Linked DNA regions of Homo sapiens: regions 2, 3, 4 and 5 are each linked to region 1. The links are contacts of gene promoters, found by promoter capture Hi-C in blood cells and fetal thymus (Javierre and others, 2016). All regions are on one chromosome and are shown on one strand. The core of a region is centred on a gene start or on the middle of the fragment in contact, and the rest is flanking DNA. Distances in the headings are between cores, read along the strand shown.

Region 1 (2,937 bases), core at 349-2,848:
TCACGCCTGTAATCCCAACACTTTGGGAGGCCGAGGTGGGAGGATCGCTTGAGCCCAGGAGACCAGCCTGGCCAATATGCCAAAACTCCGTCTCTATAAAAAATACAAAAAATTAGCCTGGCGTGTTGGCAGGCGCCTGTAATTCCAGCTGCTACGGAGGCTGAGGCGGAGAATCACTTGAACCCGGGAGGCAGACGTTGCAGTGAGCCGAGATCGCGCCGTTGCACTCCAGTCTGAGCGACAAAGCAAGACTCCGTCTCAAAAAAAAGAAGAAAGAAAGTATCCGACTTGGTCTTGGGCTCTTCTCACTATAATCCAACTATATTCTCTTACGAAATGGCAGAATTAATCTTCCCTCCTTGTGACACCCCTGTAGTTATACATGCCTCTGGCACTTACAATCATTTTTTCTAATTGTGTTTAACGGTTCTAGCACATTACTTTGTAACTTTAGAATAGAGATTGTGTCTGATTCCTGTGTATTAAGGTCCGACCTTTTTTATTTTTATTTATTTATTTTTTAGACAGAGTCTCGCTCTGTCGCCCAGGCTGGAGTGCAGCGGTCCGATCTCGGCTCACTGCAACCTCCGCCTCCCGGGTTCAAGCGATTCTCCTGCCTCAGCCTCCCGAGTGGCTGGGATTACAGGCATGCATCACCACTCCCGGCTAATTTTTTTGTATTTTTAGTAAAGACTGGGTTTCACCATGTTGGCCAGGCTGGTCTCGAACTCCTGACCATGTGATCCGCCTGCCTCGGCCTCTCAAAGTGCTGGGATTACAGGCGTGAGCCACCGCACCCAGCCGATCTGACCTTTTTTTTTTTTTTTTTTTTTTTTTGAGACGGAATCTCGCTCTATTGCCCAGGCTGGAGTGCAGTGGCGCGATCTCGGCTCACTGCAAGCTCCGCCTCCTGGGTTCACGCCATTCTCCTGCCTCAGCCTCCCAAGTAGCTGGGACTACAGGCGCCCGCCACCGCGCCTGGCTAATTTTTTTGTATTTTTAGTAGAGACGGAGTTTCACTGGGTTAGCCAGAATGGTTTCGATCTCCTGACCTCGTGATCCACCCGTCTCGGCCTCCCAAAGTGCTAGGATTACAGCGTGAGCCAGCGCGCCCAGCCCGATCTGACCTTTTTTAAATGAAGACGTATTCAGGAAGGAAATATCTACAAGTAAGACAAAATTAAGTAAGAACCCAATGTACGAACATTCACTTCTCTAACAAAGGAAAGACACAAAACAAGAAACTAATAAGGCGGAGAAAGGAATTGAGATTGGGGGAAACAGCATCTCCTTCCTCCCTGCACACTCGGCAGGTTCCCTGGAAAGTTCTAGAAGGGATTCAGAAGTGGCTGGTGACATCACTGTGGCTCCGTGGCGCCCACTACAGCAGCCAAACGACACGCTAGCTTTCCCGCCTCATAGAGGCTCGTGAATGGGGGTGGGGCCCTGCGAGGGGCGGGGTCACGTCACTTCCTGTGCGGGACGCGCTGCAGCTGGAGAGGAAAGGCAGAGCGAGGAGGGGCGAGGCCAAGAAAGCGCGCGTTTCTGGGAGGGGAGGAGCCTGGCTAAGGAGCGCCGCGTCACATCCGGTAGAGTTAGAGCCCGTGCGGAGGCGGTGCGGAGCATTTCGGCTCTGAGCGGCTGGGCGACCGGCGCGTCGTGCGGGGCTGCGGCGGAGCCTCCTTAAGGAAGGTGCAAGAGGTTGGCAGCTTCGATTGAAGCACATCGACCGGCGACAGCAGCCAGGAGTCATGAGCGACAGCGGCGAGCAGAACTACGGCGAGCGGGTACGTAGAGCTGCGGTAGGGGGTGGCTGTGTGGTCCTAGCTCCTTGCATCTTTTTCTAGGCCCGTCGGCCTCGGGCCAGGAGGCAGGGGCGTTTTAGGCTCCGAAGTCTGAAGCCGGGAGGGCAGGCAAGGGAGACAGCATTTAACCAAAAAAAGCCTTTGTGGATAGTGCCTTAGTGCCTTTGGTCGTGAAGGAGGGAGGCCCCCGGCGGGTTTATGTGGCTTCTGCCCGAGACGGCCGTTTTTCCCGTTATAAGAGGGGGAAGATGAAAATGGCCGCTGCGTCCCCGCGGTGTTGGGGGAGGGGAGCGATATCTTATTTCGGCGTTGCTCTCCTGCGAAGGTCCGCCGCAGCCATCTTGGGCTGGCGGGCTGGGCGAGCTGCCAGAGGCACAAAATGGCGGAGAAGCCGCGCGGCAACGCGGACCCGACCCGCAGCGGGCCGCGCTTCGTAAGGCCGCGTGGTGGGGTGCAAGGGGACAGACGACGTTCTTTTGGGTCTTTGGGCCGGTGTTTAGGTTAACGAAGGACCGTCTTTGCCTCCACGGAAAGGACGGAGTCTGGGATGTCTTTGGGGCCTCTTAAGATGGAAACTAATCCAAGGCCGACTAAGTTCTGGGCCCGTTAGGTGGAGGGGATTGCGTGAGGGCTTTGTGTTTGGCCTAAATGAAGCGCTTTTCTCTGATGCCGAAAGGGCTTCCCAGGCAAAAATCTGTATCAGTATTCTATTAGGACAGACCACAAAGTCGTTAAGATGATTTTGTGGACATCGCATTTCCACGGGATTGTGAAGGAGAAATTGGCGGGCAACCATTTACGGCGCCGTTATTTCCTTTGTTTTGAGGCGTTCTAATACTTAGAACCACAGCGTGTGTTGGCTACAGTTTTCTTTCCCTTAAGTTTCCACCTCTTAAAGGTGTTCAGTGAGGGTTGATTGAATTGCGGGAACAAGACAGTTCTAGGGTTTAAACAGCATACGTAGCTGGTCTGTGGGGCTCTGGGTATTGGATTCGGAAAGCATTGAATGATGCGAACATACGAGGCTTGCTAGAATTAAGAGGAATCTGTTAGAAGGGTGATAGAAAAGCACCATAGAAATTGATTTTTGAGGCTGTGGGAATAATTTGTGCTTTTTTAAAAAAAAAAAACA
Region 2 (3,134 bases), core at 202-2,701, 1.2 Mb before region 1:
TTTTAAAAGTTTCCATGAGAGTTAGTTCTAGCTAAGAGCTGTATGTCACTGGCATTGAGCTTTCAGGAAATACCTGGTCAGAGCTTCTAGCCCAAAGTGTCTCCAGAGGTGAGCACACTATCATCCTCTTCATTGGAAATGAATACTTGGAATAGTACAGTAAACTATTTGTCCTACTGTAGTTCTTTATCTTACTACAGTAGATTTTTCTTACAGAAGACTTTCAAACAAGATTGGCTTCAAGAACCCTAACCAGTACAACCAGGGTTCCCAAGGGAGAGGGTGTTAAGACTCTGGGTTTGTTGGCAACCCAGTCTAGTTCTTTCCCTGTATTCTTGAAGACTTTTTTTCTGAAGTGGTTGGAGCCAAATAGTCACTGATAGATTGTATAGAGGGAATTAATATACAAAGGGTAGAACAGGGTCTGCTAGATAGCTAGCTAAAGTCAGCATGTGGTCAATTTAAGATGAACTGTGATTGGTAGCTAAAAGTTCTTTGCTGCTAATGTATGGGAAGAAAATAAAAGGATTGGGCAGAAATAGTAGTGTACTTTCCCTATCTTTATCACCCATTTGGCATTTTCAGGCCTATTTGTTATTCTCGTAACCTGTAGACTCCTACAAGGATACTTGCGGCTTAGTTTTCAATGTTTTATATTTCATGAAACATTTGTATCTCAACCACACCCCACACTATACCCCAACTTAGTTGCCTACTCATCTGTTACTTGCACATAAAGTCTCCTGCTCCTGAAAGTTCCCAGTGGGAAGATGTACAAATCTGGGGACACTGGCCTCCCCACTAGGGCAGTTGTCTCAGAAGTGTCTGAAGTTTGGATATTAGGGTTGAAAGGCAGACAGTATAATTAGCACTCTTATTTCTTCTGGTATTTCCTTACCATGATATTTATGGGTTGCCCATCAATTTGGACTTTTTTTCCACCCCATTTTTCAATACCTAGACTAATAGGTATTTCTATTGAGAACTTCCTTTTTCTCTTTTTTAAATTTTCCTCTATTTTCTTTTGGTTATTTTGAGAGCTGAAATTCACAGAAGTATCCTAAATTATCTTTTCCAAAATTGTTATAGCAAAGACTGCTAGTTATCTACTCTGCTATTCATTCTTCTTCCTTTTTCTTTAGCAGAACCTGATTTGTGTGGGGTTAGGGGCATCATGTGCTCAGCTAAAAAACTATAGTGCCCATCCTTCATTACTGCTAAGGATGGCAGTGGAACACAGTTCTTGCCAATAAGGTGTAATCAAAGGTATTGAGAGAGATACCTAGTAAAGCTCCTTAAAAGCCGGTAGCCTCACAGCATGTACTCTTTTGCCTTTCTTTCTTTCTTTCTCTTCTTCCTGCCTGCATGTTAGGGGAGATGCCAGACATAGAATAAACATCTCACAACAGTGAGCCATAAGACAGAAACCAAGATAATAGCTTGGGTCACATCTGAAGAGACTGGGTTAGACACTGTGTGTGAACTCAGACAGTCAGAAACAGTCATACTTTTTGCACACTACCACTATCCCCATTATCTTAGAGTTAAAAAAAAATGCCTTTGTCATGACAGATCCATACTGTTTGTATATCTCCAACACTGTTTGCAGTAAGACTTTACTGCCATCATGTAATTACTCTCACAATCTGAGATGTAGACATTATTTTGCATCTGAATCATTAAAAATAACTACTGTGTCTCTGGCCCCAGGTTGATGTTCGTTAATTATGGAGGACCCAAGATCTTTAAATGGAGTGGTAGCATGCAATTCAGTAGATGGCAATGTGGTCAATTTTGATAATTAGATAAAAATATTAGTATGCACAGCCAGTGGCTTTTAAAATAGTAGTAACATGAAAGTACCGTGAGATAGTTTTACAGCAAATCGCATGTTTTAAATGTATACATTCATATTTTAAGTGTTGTGGGGATGAATTACTTGTTTTATAGGTTTCTATTTTCAACCATGTTTTCCTGTTCTGTACTATTTGCCATAGCAGGACACTGGAAAAGATTTAAGACCTCCAAATGTAAAGGGTTATTGAGAAAGAGTTGCCAAAAAAGGGTCACATATTAGTTAGATAAGTTGTAGTTACAAAATAATATCTACAATATCTCAATTTATAGAAAGACAATATTCTGCATGTACATCTGTCTTAACTGGAAGGCTCTTATAATATCAAGTTGTTAATATTGGGGCTTTTTCTAGCTAGATGGGATAATAGTTTTTTTTAGTGTTCTATTGCTTTAATTTTTCTGTAATGAACTGGTATTACCTGTTCGTAACTTTTTTAAAGTTGAAAATAATTCCTCTTGATGGACATTTAACAAGAGAAGCAGAAGTATGTTGCTGAGAAATGAGTAGCATCAAGTCAGGAACAGTAGGAACAAAGGGACTCCTGCCTTTGCTGCTGATCCACCAGAACAGCCATCAGACTCCTCAGACCGCTGCTGGCTCCTGAGCTGCTCCTGAGCTGCCTGTGGGATCCTGAGTGGCAATGAGCCCTCGCTGTGGCACTAAAGATCCTCTTTCTTGTCTTGTTATTTCTTCATGTTACCTTATCCTATCCTATGGTAATATTGTCTCTGTCTCTCTCTCCCTTTCTCCGCCATAGTGGTGTGTGGTTGACTCTGTTTCTCGCCATGTCTTCTCACAAGACTTTCACCATTAAGCGATTCCTGGCCAAGAAACAAAAGCAAAATCGTCCCATCCCCCAGTGGATTCAGATGAAACCTGGTAGTAAAATCAGGTACAACTCCAAAAGGAGGCATTGGAGAAGAACCAAGCTGGGTCTATAAGGAATTGCACATGAGATGGCACACATATTTATGCTGTATCAAGTTCACGATCATCTTACGATATCAAGCTGAAAATGTCACCACTACCTGGACAGTTGCACATGTTTTACTGGGAATATTTTTTTCTGTTTTTCTGTATGCTCTGTGCTAGTAGGGTGGATTCAGTAATAAATATGTGAAAGCTTTTGTTTCAAAAATGTCTCTGTCATCTTTAAAAACTGTCCCTTCATTTATTCGGTAAACATCAGGATCTGTGCTGTATGCCAAACCCCTGGGTAATGCTGAGGATAAATGCTGAGCCAAATAGACCTTCAGCCTGTGGTGAGAGGGATAGA
Region 3 (3,134 bases), core at 383-2,882, 1.2 Mb before region 1:
ATGTAACAGGAGATTTGACTTTTCTCATATGTAACAGGAGATTTGACTTTTCATCTAGAATTAGAACCAAAATCGTTAAATTTGTATAGATATTTGCATTAGCAGAAATCCCATTTTGTTCATGTTGTTTTTAAATAAAGTGACTCGTTTAAAATTTAGTTGCATTTTAAAAATCTGTGTTATGGGAGTGGTAATACTGACTCCAGGCAGGGAAATGAGACAATTGTTAGAGACGCAGGGATGGAGCTGAGAGGTCCTCCTGGTCTCCAATGGCCCGGCGGTGGCTCGATGGGAGGGAGAGCGCCCCCTGGAGGCATTGGCGGTTCCTGGCTCGTGTGCTCGCGGGAACCCAAGCTGTGAGCCTCTGGCCCCGCCAGGGCGTACGAATCCTTTCCTCGTTTATCCAGTATTAAGTCACGCTGTGTGCTAAGTACCGTGGCCAGGCAGCAGCTAGACAACGCGCTGAGGTAAAATAGAGAACTAAGGAAGAATGGGGGACCCCAAAGTCAACTTGGTGACACATCACACGCAGGAGTCGGACCCACGGCTCCCCGAGCCACAGCTCAGTGGGGCGGGACCGCCCGGGCCTGGGCGGGGCCGGGGCGGGGCCTGTCACGGGGGAAATCACCGCCCTAGCATCCGGGGAAATCGCGGTCTTAGCATCCGGCGCGCGGCGGTTGAATTGCTGCGCCCAGCGAGGCAACCGCCTCCGAACGCCAGGTGGGGGCGAGGCGTCTCGGAGTCTCAGAGACACCAAGGCCCCTGCGACAAGGTGGCTGCAGCTAGGCCGGGGGCGTCAGGACGACGGAGCGGGTTCGGGTCGGTGACACGCAGACCTGAGGGAGCTGGGCCCGCCTTTTCCGCCCGCGCCCCAGGCCCTTGCAGATCGAGATTTGCGTCCTAGAGTGGGAAAAAAGCAGAGGCCAGGGCGCCGGTAAGTAAAGGTTCCTCCTCACCCGCCGCCAGGGCCCGGTCCGCCCAACGAGCAGGGCGGCGTGAGGGTCACGGGCTGGAAACAACAATGCCACAGCTCAAGCCGACTCCAACAGTAGTAGCGTTTTTGTTTGTTTGTTTGTTTGTTTGTTTTTTGAGACAGGGTCTCCCTCCGTCGCCCAGGCTGGAGTGCAGTGGTGTGATCTCGGCTCACTGCAACCTCCGCCTCCGGATTCAAGCGATTCTCCCGCCTTAGCCTCCTGAGTAGCTGGGGTTACAGGCGCGCGCCACCACACTCGGCTAATTTTTGTATTTTTAGTAAAGACGGGTTTCACCATATTGGTCACACCAGTCTCGAACTCCCGACCTCAGGTGATCCGCCCGCCTCGGCCTCCCAAAGTGCTGGGATTACAGGCGTGAGGCACTGCTCCTGGCCTACAGTAGTGGCTTCTGGAGGCCACTCAGGCACCCCCTGTTTCTAGCTTAGAGAAGGAGGAAATCGACAATAAAGTAGCCTTAAAGGGATCCATGTTCCGCCCTGCCACCTCTTCAGATGTCAGCGTTGTCCAACTAGTGTCCCTAGAATTACCCAGGATGTGAGTGGCACTGATTCATCAGTGGTTTAATCAGCAAAACCAAGTGTCTTACCTATCTGCCTCATCTGCTCACTGCCTCTTTCCAAGGCGTTCTCACAGGCGCAAACACTTTCTTTTCCTCCATTAATTCCAGTAGGTAAGATTTTGCAGTCTCCTTTAAGGTCCCCGTTTCTCAAAGATAGCCCAAGGAATCTCGCCACTTCCTTGCCTTTTACACATCTGGATTCATCCAGAGACATAAACCCTGACCAGGACTAGCTTCAAAAGGGTCCCACCCGTGCAGTCACATAGGGCTCAGAAGGGCCCTGTACTTACTTTCTTGCTCTGCTATGGCAATCTTGAAATTCTTAATTTTTAAACCAGCACCCGCCTCCCCTCCCCGCCACCTCCACAACATTTTCATTTTGCACTGGGCCTGGCCTTAATTCTCAATTTTCTCAAAGGCTGTCATGTAACTATATAAAAATATAGTTAAAAGAGTTTCTTCTCTAGACATGTCTTTAGTCACTAGGACATCAAGAGACAGGACGGATGCTTCTATTAACTGAGAGTTGTTGGAATCATAAAGGCTTTGTAATCCAATAGTCACCCTCCACGCCTTCTCAATTTCAGAACCTAAGAGAGTTTGCTTAGAGAAAGAACCTGAGAGGTTGTAAAGCTGAGCTGACCAAAGCTCATTGAATCACATGTAGCTATTCAGCACTTGAAATGTGGCTGGTCTGAAAAAAGATGTGCTACAAATGTTAAAACGCACACCAGCTTTTAAAGTCTCTTTTTTTCCTTTTTTTTTTTTTTTGAGACGGAGTATCCTTCTGTCGCTGGAGTGCAGTGGCGCAATCCTGGCTCACTGCAACTTCTGCTGCCTGGGTTCAAGTGATTCTCCCGTCTCAGCCTCCCGAGTAGCTGGGATTGTGGTAGCTGTGCCTGCCACCACACCCGGCTAATTTTTGTATTTTTAGTAAAGACGGGGTTTCACCATGTTGGCCATGGTTGGCCAGGCTGGTCTCGAATTCCTGACCTCAGATGATCTGCCCGCATCAGCCTCCCAAAGTGCTGGGATTGCAGGCGTGAGCCACCGCACCCGGCCAATTTTTCTTTTTCTTTTTTGAAGACGGAGTCTTACTCTGTTGCCCAGGCTGGAGTGCAGTGGTGCAACCTCGGCTCACTGCAGCCTCCGCCTCCCGGGTTCAGGTGATCCTCCTGCCTCACCTCCCCAAGTAGCTGGGACTACAGGCATGTGCCACCACGCTGTCTAATTATTTTGTATTTTTAGTAGAGACGGGGTTTCACCATGTTGGCCAGGCTGGTCTGGAACTCCTGACCTCAGGTGATCCTGAGCATTTTGGCCTCCCAAAATGCTGGGATTACAGGTGTGAGCCACTGCACCTGACACTTTTTTTTTTTTTTTTTTTTTTTTTTGAGGAAGAGTGTTGTTCTGTTGCCCAAGCTGGAGTGCATTGACTCAATCATGACTCACTACAACCTCATCTCCTCGGCTCAAGCCATCCTCTTGCTGCCTCAGCCTCCCGATCACAGGCATGCACCACCATGCCCAGCTAATTTTTAAATTTTTTTGTAGAGATGAGGTCTCACTATGAGAAACAT
Region 4 (2,841 bases), core at 8-2,507, 1.1 Mb before region 1:
TCTTCTTGTCCCATTGTCTCCTCTCTCAGGCCCACAGGGTACAGGAGGTACTGAGTTGAGTCTCACAGAAACCTTCTTACTCTTATAGTCAAAACTGCATTTATTTAAAGACCTGTCCATTTACATATATCATTTTTCCTGTTGACTCTCATAGCCACACCTGGCACAGAAGTGTCACATGCCTGACTAGGTCTGCTGGCCTGAAACCTAACAGTATGACACCATTCTCTATAAAAAGCCACCTTCTCAATAAGAAAAGTGCCTTTTTTGTTTTGCATGCCTTCATCATGGCCAAGGGAGGGGAGCTGAACAAATGTGGGTCCAGATGGCTTTAGAAGAGAGCTGCTAAAGCCAGGCGCAGTGGCTCATGCCTGTAATCCCAGCACTTTGGGAGGCTGAGGCAGGTGGATCACCTGAGGTCAGGAGTTTGAGACTAGTCTGGCAAACATGGCAAAACCCTGTCTCTACTAAAAATACAAAAAATTAGCTGGGCATGGTGGTGCATGCCTGTAATCTCAGCTACTTGGGAGACCGAGGCAGGGGAATCACTTGAACCCAGGAGGCAGAGCAGGGAGCCGAGAGTGCACCACTGCACTCCAGCCTGAGCGCAAGAGCAAAACTCTGTCTCAAAAAAAAAAAAAAAGAAAAAGAAGAGAGCTGCTGTCAGGAGACCTCTCCGTCTGGGAAAAGAACAAGCCACTCAGAGGCAGAATTCTACCAAAGCAACAGCTATTCTCTCAGTGACTTCTGGGTGCCAGATGTTCTCCTTGTGGAGTGGGGGTGGGGACCCCGTTTACTAATCCACAGAAACAGACACAAAATAGTTAGGATAACTGACCAGGACAAAAGATAGAGAAGACAGACCACCAGCTTTTTAGGATATCAAGGTAAGAAAGGGCAATGATAGAAAGTGTCCATCACAGTTCAGTACCACCACAAGTGCTGTCATGGAGCGGCCAGGACTCGAGTACGAAAGGAACAGCCAGATACTTAGTGTTGCTTACAGGAGGTGAGAAAAGAGAGCTGACTTGCCTAAGAAGCAGCAGGAAAGGCTCTCTTGAGGGTGGGTAGTGTATCCCGGGAAGTGGGCCACCTTCCTCGCAGCCCTGGCACAATGGTGCACAGAGATCTAGAAGTGTAATGGGAAAAAAATCTGCTTCAGTAGAAAGCCATGCATTTTCTGAGCACACTCTTCCTCCCTGTCAGATTCTGATTCCACGGGAGCTATTTCGCAACCCTTTGTGAATTGTAGGCAACTAATACATGTGCCTACTGGGCAGGATGCTGCCCAGGAGAGTTTCAATTGATTTCTCCCCTCCCCCTGCCTTATCTCACAGAAAAACTAGTTCAACTCCTTTACTCCAAATTTGTGTTGCTTTGACTTTTCCTTTGAACCAGTTGTAATATCTGCCTGGTTCCATCATACGAGTAAAATAAAATCTTCATGATGAATTCATTTTTAATATCTGTATGAGAGTCATCATCTTACCTTTTTTTCCCTAAAAATTATCCTTTAACAGAAGTTTTGCCTCCCTTCTGCTAGATGCCTCTCAAGTGGTCTCAAGCTGACTCACCTTCCCTGTTGGGATTTGGGAAGGTGGAGTCATTCGCAAACAGGCAGAGGCAGACATTCAGGTTTCAGTAGTGCCCATCGCTACTATTTACAAAGCACTTGCTGCATACCAGCCTCTGGGTGACATGCTCCACACATAGTAACTCCTTTGATCCTAAAAAAAAACCCTGGATAGTAACTATTCATATTTCTGTGTTACAAGTAAGGGAAATGAGGCTCAGAAAGGTAAAGTAAAGCAACTTGCTGAAGTCACTCACACAGGAAGTGTTGGGGGAGGGATCTGATCAAAGCCTGCCTGACTCCAGTACTCTTAATTCCCAGGCAACCTTACTTTGGCCTTAAATACAGTTTCAAATCTTTGCAGGACTGGGGTTTCGTTCTTCACAGTGAGGAAGACTGAATCATCACGAAGAAGTGCTCAGAGAGTAGGTAGCCTCCGCAGTCCAAGAGAGTGCTCAGGGAGGGCTCCTCCCCTCTCCCCTCTCCTCTTTGCTGCTGCCTGCTCACCTCCAGATCCTACCATCCATGTATCAAACAGAGATTGGTTTCTCTCTAAATTCATTCTCTTCAACCTCAAAGTAGCCCAGCATGGCCTGGAAATCCTACTCCATTCATCAGGTTTACTGACGGTCCCACTCACCTCAATGACAATTATAAATCTCTTTGTTCAAACCTTCTCTACTAAAACCTCTTTCCCCCTCAGCCTCCTTCTGACTTGGCCTTGCATGCCACTTTGCAGAGAAAATAGAAGCCCTCTCATCCTTCTAATACTGACTGCCTCCAGCTACACCACTCGCACCTTCTTCCCTCTGACTCCCGCCTGCTGGGGTTCATCCTCCACTACGCTTTGGCTCCACCACCATCATGTTGTGGGTAACTAATCATTTTCTCCTCTTTTTAGTATATTCACTTTCTCCCTCTATCAACTGGTTTCTCCCTGTTGATTTAAAAGAAAGCTTTTAAAATATACATAACATAAAATTGACCATTTTAGCAACTTTAAGTATTCAGCTTAGTACATTCCTATTGTTGTGTAACTATCACCACCATCTCCAGAACTTTTTCAGCTTCCCAAAATGAATCACAGTATTCATTAAACAACAATTCCACATTCCTTTCTCCTCCTAGCCCTTGGCAAACATCATTCTACTTTGTTTCTACTCCAGGTGTTCCATATAAAGTGGAATCATACAGTGTTTGTACTTCTGTGACTGTCTCCCCTACTGACATTTTTTCCAATTTAAAAATTGTATTAAAATACATATAAC
Region 5 (3,039 bases), core at 540-3,039, 1.1 Mb before region 1:
GAGACAGGAAGCTGACTCACCTCATGATAGAGGCTAGGAATTCTGGGTAAGATAGCAGACATGTAGCCAACTAAGGAAATGGAAACAAAAATTCATTAAGCACGCTAGATGTTATTTCACTTAACTTCACCATAACCAGGGCCACCATGAGACACAACTCTGGGGGCACCACGCATAGCATAGTCTAATACGAAGGGCATCTCCTAACCTGTACAGGGTTCACTTCAAAGGTGTTATAATCTCCATTTTATGGATTAGCAACCTGAGGCTCTAAGAAGTCAAGGGAAGTGCCCAAGCTCACAGAGCTGAGGAAATGGTTGCACTGAGGTTCAAATCGAAGTGGATTTGATTCCATAACCCATGTCCTTTCCAGTACAACATGCACAGAACTGCAAGAAGCTCTGGAAAATAGATTTCACTGAGCAAATAGAGACTGAATAGTCTCTTTATTTCTGAGTAAACACCTACTTTGTTTTCTCAGAATTTATTGTGTAACTGAATGGAAACTGGAAGCACTTTGAACTCAAATAATGTCTGTATCTTTTGGAAAACATTACATTCTTTCCCCAATCACTGGGTTTATTTACAATAATAAATCAAAGCAATCACCTCCGGGGTTTTGCTAACCCACTAGGGGTCTGAGGTCCCTTCCCATGGATCCCGCTCCTAAGGATATCAGGAAAAGGTAGTAGGAGTACTGGACTGGGTGTTCACAAAACCTGGGTTCTTATCCCCATTCTTGGTGACCTTGGGCAGGTCACTTAATATTTCTGCCCCTGAGTTTTTCAGAATAATTATCTCTGCCCTATGTGATTTGCAGAGTGTTGGGAGGGCAAAACAAGAGCATGGTATTCATTGGATTTGAACTAGATAAGCAAAAAGGCACAGAAGGTATTCTGAACAGAGACAGGAGAGCAGCAGCTCAGCCTGGGGGCCATGTGGAGGTGATACGGGTAGTGAAGACAGCAGTGTGAAGCCACAGCCATGACTCAGCAGCCCTGAGCTCCAGGCTCTTCCCTGGGAATTCTCCATGAACTGACATCCAGCTCATTCCTGGAATCCATTGGCAGTACCAACCAAAGCAGTGCTTCCACCATCCCAGACCTCAGGAACCAGTGACTCTGGGAACGATGGGCTCCTATCTTGGGCTGCTGAAGTTGTGGAAATGATTAAATGTACACAGTGGAAGAAGAATTCAGATAGAAGATCATGAAGTGAAGGGTGGAAGCTTGTTGTATTACCAGAAACTAAGGAATTCAATTTCCGCAGACACCCAACACAGGTAATCACATGACCATATGACAACTGAAGAAGAACTAGAGAAAAGAAGGAAAGTAGCATTTAAGGAGGGCCTACTACGTGGTAGTCACTTTCCTTGCAATATCTCATTGAACCTTTACTACAACACTATGATAGAGATATTGACAATCCTATTTTAGGAAATGGAAAAAACTGAGACTTAGCAAGGTTATAGGGTTTCTCCAATGTCAACAGCAAGTCAGTTCTAGAACCAGAATTCCAGCCCAGGTCTGTCTGACTCTAAAAGTTCATCATCTTTCCACCCAAGGACATGCATCTGTGATAAGGGACAGTGAGAAGTCAGTGTGATCAAGTCGGACTCAAGGTCACTAGAGAGGCAACTTCGTCTGTCAGACAGTCGCAGACAAGCCACCTTCACCATCAGTGCTGCACCTGCCATCCCTGCTGTGCACTGAGTGGTAACACTCAGGTACTTTCCGTATTGGTAAGGTTTTACAGACCTATTATACTCCCGTGAGATAAGCACAGCAGATTTTATGAGCTCCATTTATAGCTGAGTATAGTGAGGTTTGGAAATACAAATAATTTTCAAAGTTGCATGAGTGATTTGGAAATAGTGGACTTAGAACCTGACTTTCACATGTCTGAATGAAACAAGATGGCAGGAAGGGCCTGATTCACTGTCACAGGAGTGGAGGCTCAGGCAGCAGCTGCCCAGTACCTACTCTCCAAGGTGTGGTTTCCCAGGAAAGAAGAGTTCCTCCAAACAGCTGGGTCTAGCGACAGTCTTGCAACCATCAGACAGCCTCAGCCTTCACAGCCTGTGCTCTGTCATGGCCTCAGGGCACTCATCTGAAATCTCACATAAGGGCTCATGTGGTCCCTTGACACCACCCTTGGTTGAGGCTCCAAGTCCACCAGGTGGCTGGAGTTTCTGGTCACAGGCACTTATAACTGCAAGACCCTTTCTCATCTCTCAAATTGTCTGAAGAAGGCAGAGGCTGAAGAAACTTTCTCTAAATGGCGCAACCGAGGGAAAAGAGTAGCAAACTTTTCTCTACAAATGTTTTGGAAAAACACACTAAGCTTTGAATTTTCCAATTACACCAGACTGTGTTAAGCCTCCAGGTGTCTGCACTGCTGCACTCTTTCTCCTTGTCCATGTGCCTGCCAGCTCTGACAGCATCACCTTTCTGCTTCTGAAGGTCAGTGGAGGCCACCTCCCCTTCCGCACTATCCCTGCTCCCCTTTGCTGCCAGCCAGTGCTTTGTAATGCTTGCTTTTCATGCCTGACTTTGCTGCTCAAGGAAAACTCCTCCTGGTATCCTTTCTGAAACCCTAGTACCCAGCACAGTGCCTGGACCAGAGCGGATACTCAATGAAAGATTATTGAACTGATGCAATTGTATCAGAGAATCTTTACAATCATCACGAGGCTTCTAGAGGAAGAACACAGCGACTTGCATCATCACCTTCAAAGAACTGGCCAACACTGAACCGGCAGAAATCAATGCTCAAAGCAAGGAAATCCTGTCCCGACCCACCCGTCATGACATACTCAGTACCAGTTGCATTCGTGGCAGGTAGTAGGTACTCAGAATGGTTGACTGAAATACAGAATAACTTAAATCTTATATAGTTAATAGAAATGGACAAGCCATTTCTCTACACCCCCCAATGAAACCCACATTGAATCAGCAGTTAAAGAGGACTAAAAAATACATACAAAAAGAAAACAGCAAAGCTGGAGCCAGATACTGAGATCCTGAGATTCCCTGC

The links. The method cuts DNA at HindIII sites, captures the fragments that hold promoters and counts their contacts. A CHiCAGO score of 5 or more calls a contact.
Region 2: a contact is called between a fragment that was not itself captured here and the fragment with the promoter of TRA2B in region 1, in 1 of 17 cell types (activated CD4 T cells). The highest score is 6.7, in activated CD4 T cells.
Region 3: a contact is called between a fragment that was not itself captured here and the fragment with the promoter of TRA2B in region 1, in 3 of 17 cell types (naive CD8 T cells, total B cells and naive CD4 T cells). The highest score is 7.0, in naive CD8 T cells.
Region 4: a contact is called between a fragment that was not itself captured here and the fragment with the promoter of TRA2B in region 1, in 1 of 17 cell types (activated CD4 T cells). The highest score is 8.4, in activated CD4 T cells.
Region 5: a fragment that was not itself captured here is called in contact with the fragment with the promoter of TRA2B in region 1 in 2 of 17 cell types (activated CD4 T cells and naive CD8 T cells); the score reaches 5.5 in activated CD4 T cells.

The regions. Positions count from the first base shown.
Region 1 is chr3:185,936,675-185,939,611 of GRCh38, reverse strand. TRA2B (transformer 2 beta homolog) reads left to right here and starts at 1,598. Exons shown (of 9, transcript NM_004593.3): 1 at 1,598-1,787. The coding sequence starts at 1,752. RefSeq lists enhancers at 1,667-2,126, 1,537-2,264, 2,167-2,376. The HindIII fragment of the contact is 7,639 bases long and covers 1-2,937 here.
Region 2 is chr3:187,120,810-187,123,943 of GRCh38, reverse strand. It overlaps RPL39L (ribosomal protein L39 like), which reads left to right. Exons shown (of 3, transcript NM_052969.3): 3 at 2,616-2,996. The coding sequence starts at 2,644. The coding sequence ends at 2,799. It also overlaps the pseudogene RPL39P19. Among named protein-coding and RNA genes, the nearest start is that of RPL39L, 17 kb to the left of the region's middle. The HindIII fragment of the contact is 3,064 bases long and covers 1-2,983 here.
Region 3 is chr3:187,137,013-187,140,146 of GRCh38, reverse strand. It overlaps RPL39L (ribosomal protein L39 like), which reads left to right and starts at 651. Exons shown (of 3, transcript NM_052969.3): 1 at 651-934. RefSeq lists a silencer at 511-740 and enhancers at 781-930, 971-1,070, 939-1,445, 2,635-3,134. The HindIII fragment of the contact is 4,719 bases long and covers 1-3,134 here.
Region 4 is chr3:187,062,808-187,065,648 of GRCh38, reverse strand. All of the region lies in intron 5 of ST6GAL1 (ST6 beta-galactoside alpha-2,6-sialyltransferase 1), which reads right to left. Among named protein-coding and RNA genes, the nearest start is that of RPL39L, 75 kb to the left of the region's middle. RefSeq lists an enhancer at 1-15. The HindIII fragment of the contact is 2,549 bases long and covers 1-2,531 here.
Region 5 is chr3:187,038,948-187,041,986 of GRCh38, reverse strand. The region is part of intron 3 of ST6GAL1 (ST6 beta-galactoside alpha-2,6-sialyltransferase 1); the gene reads right to left. Among named protein-coding and RNA genes, the nearest start is that of RPL39L, 99 kb to the left of the region's middle. RefSeq lists an enhancer at 84-153. The HindIII fragment of the contact is 1,118 bases long and covers 1,231-2,348 here.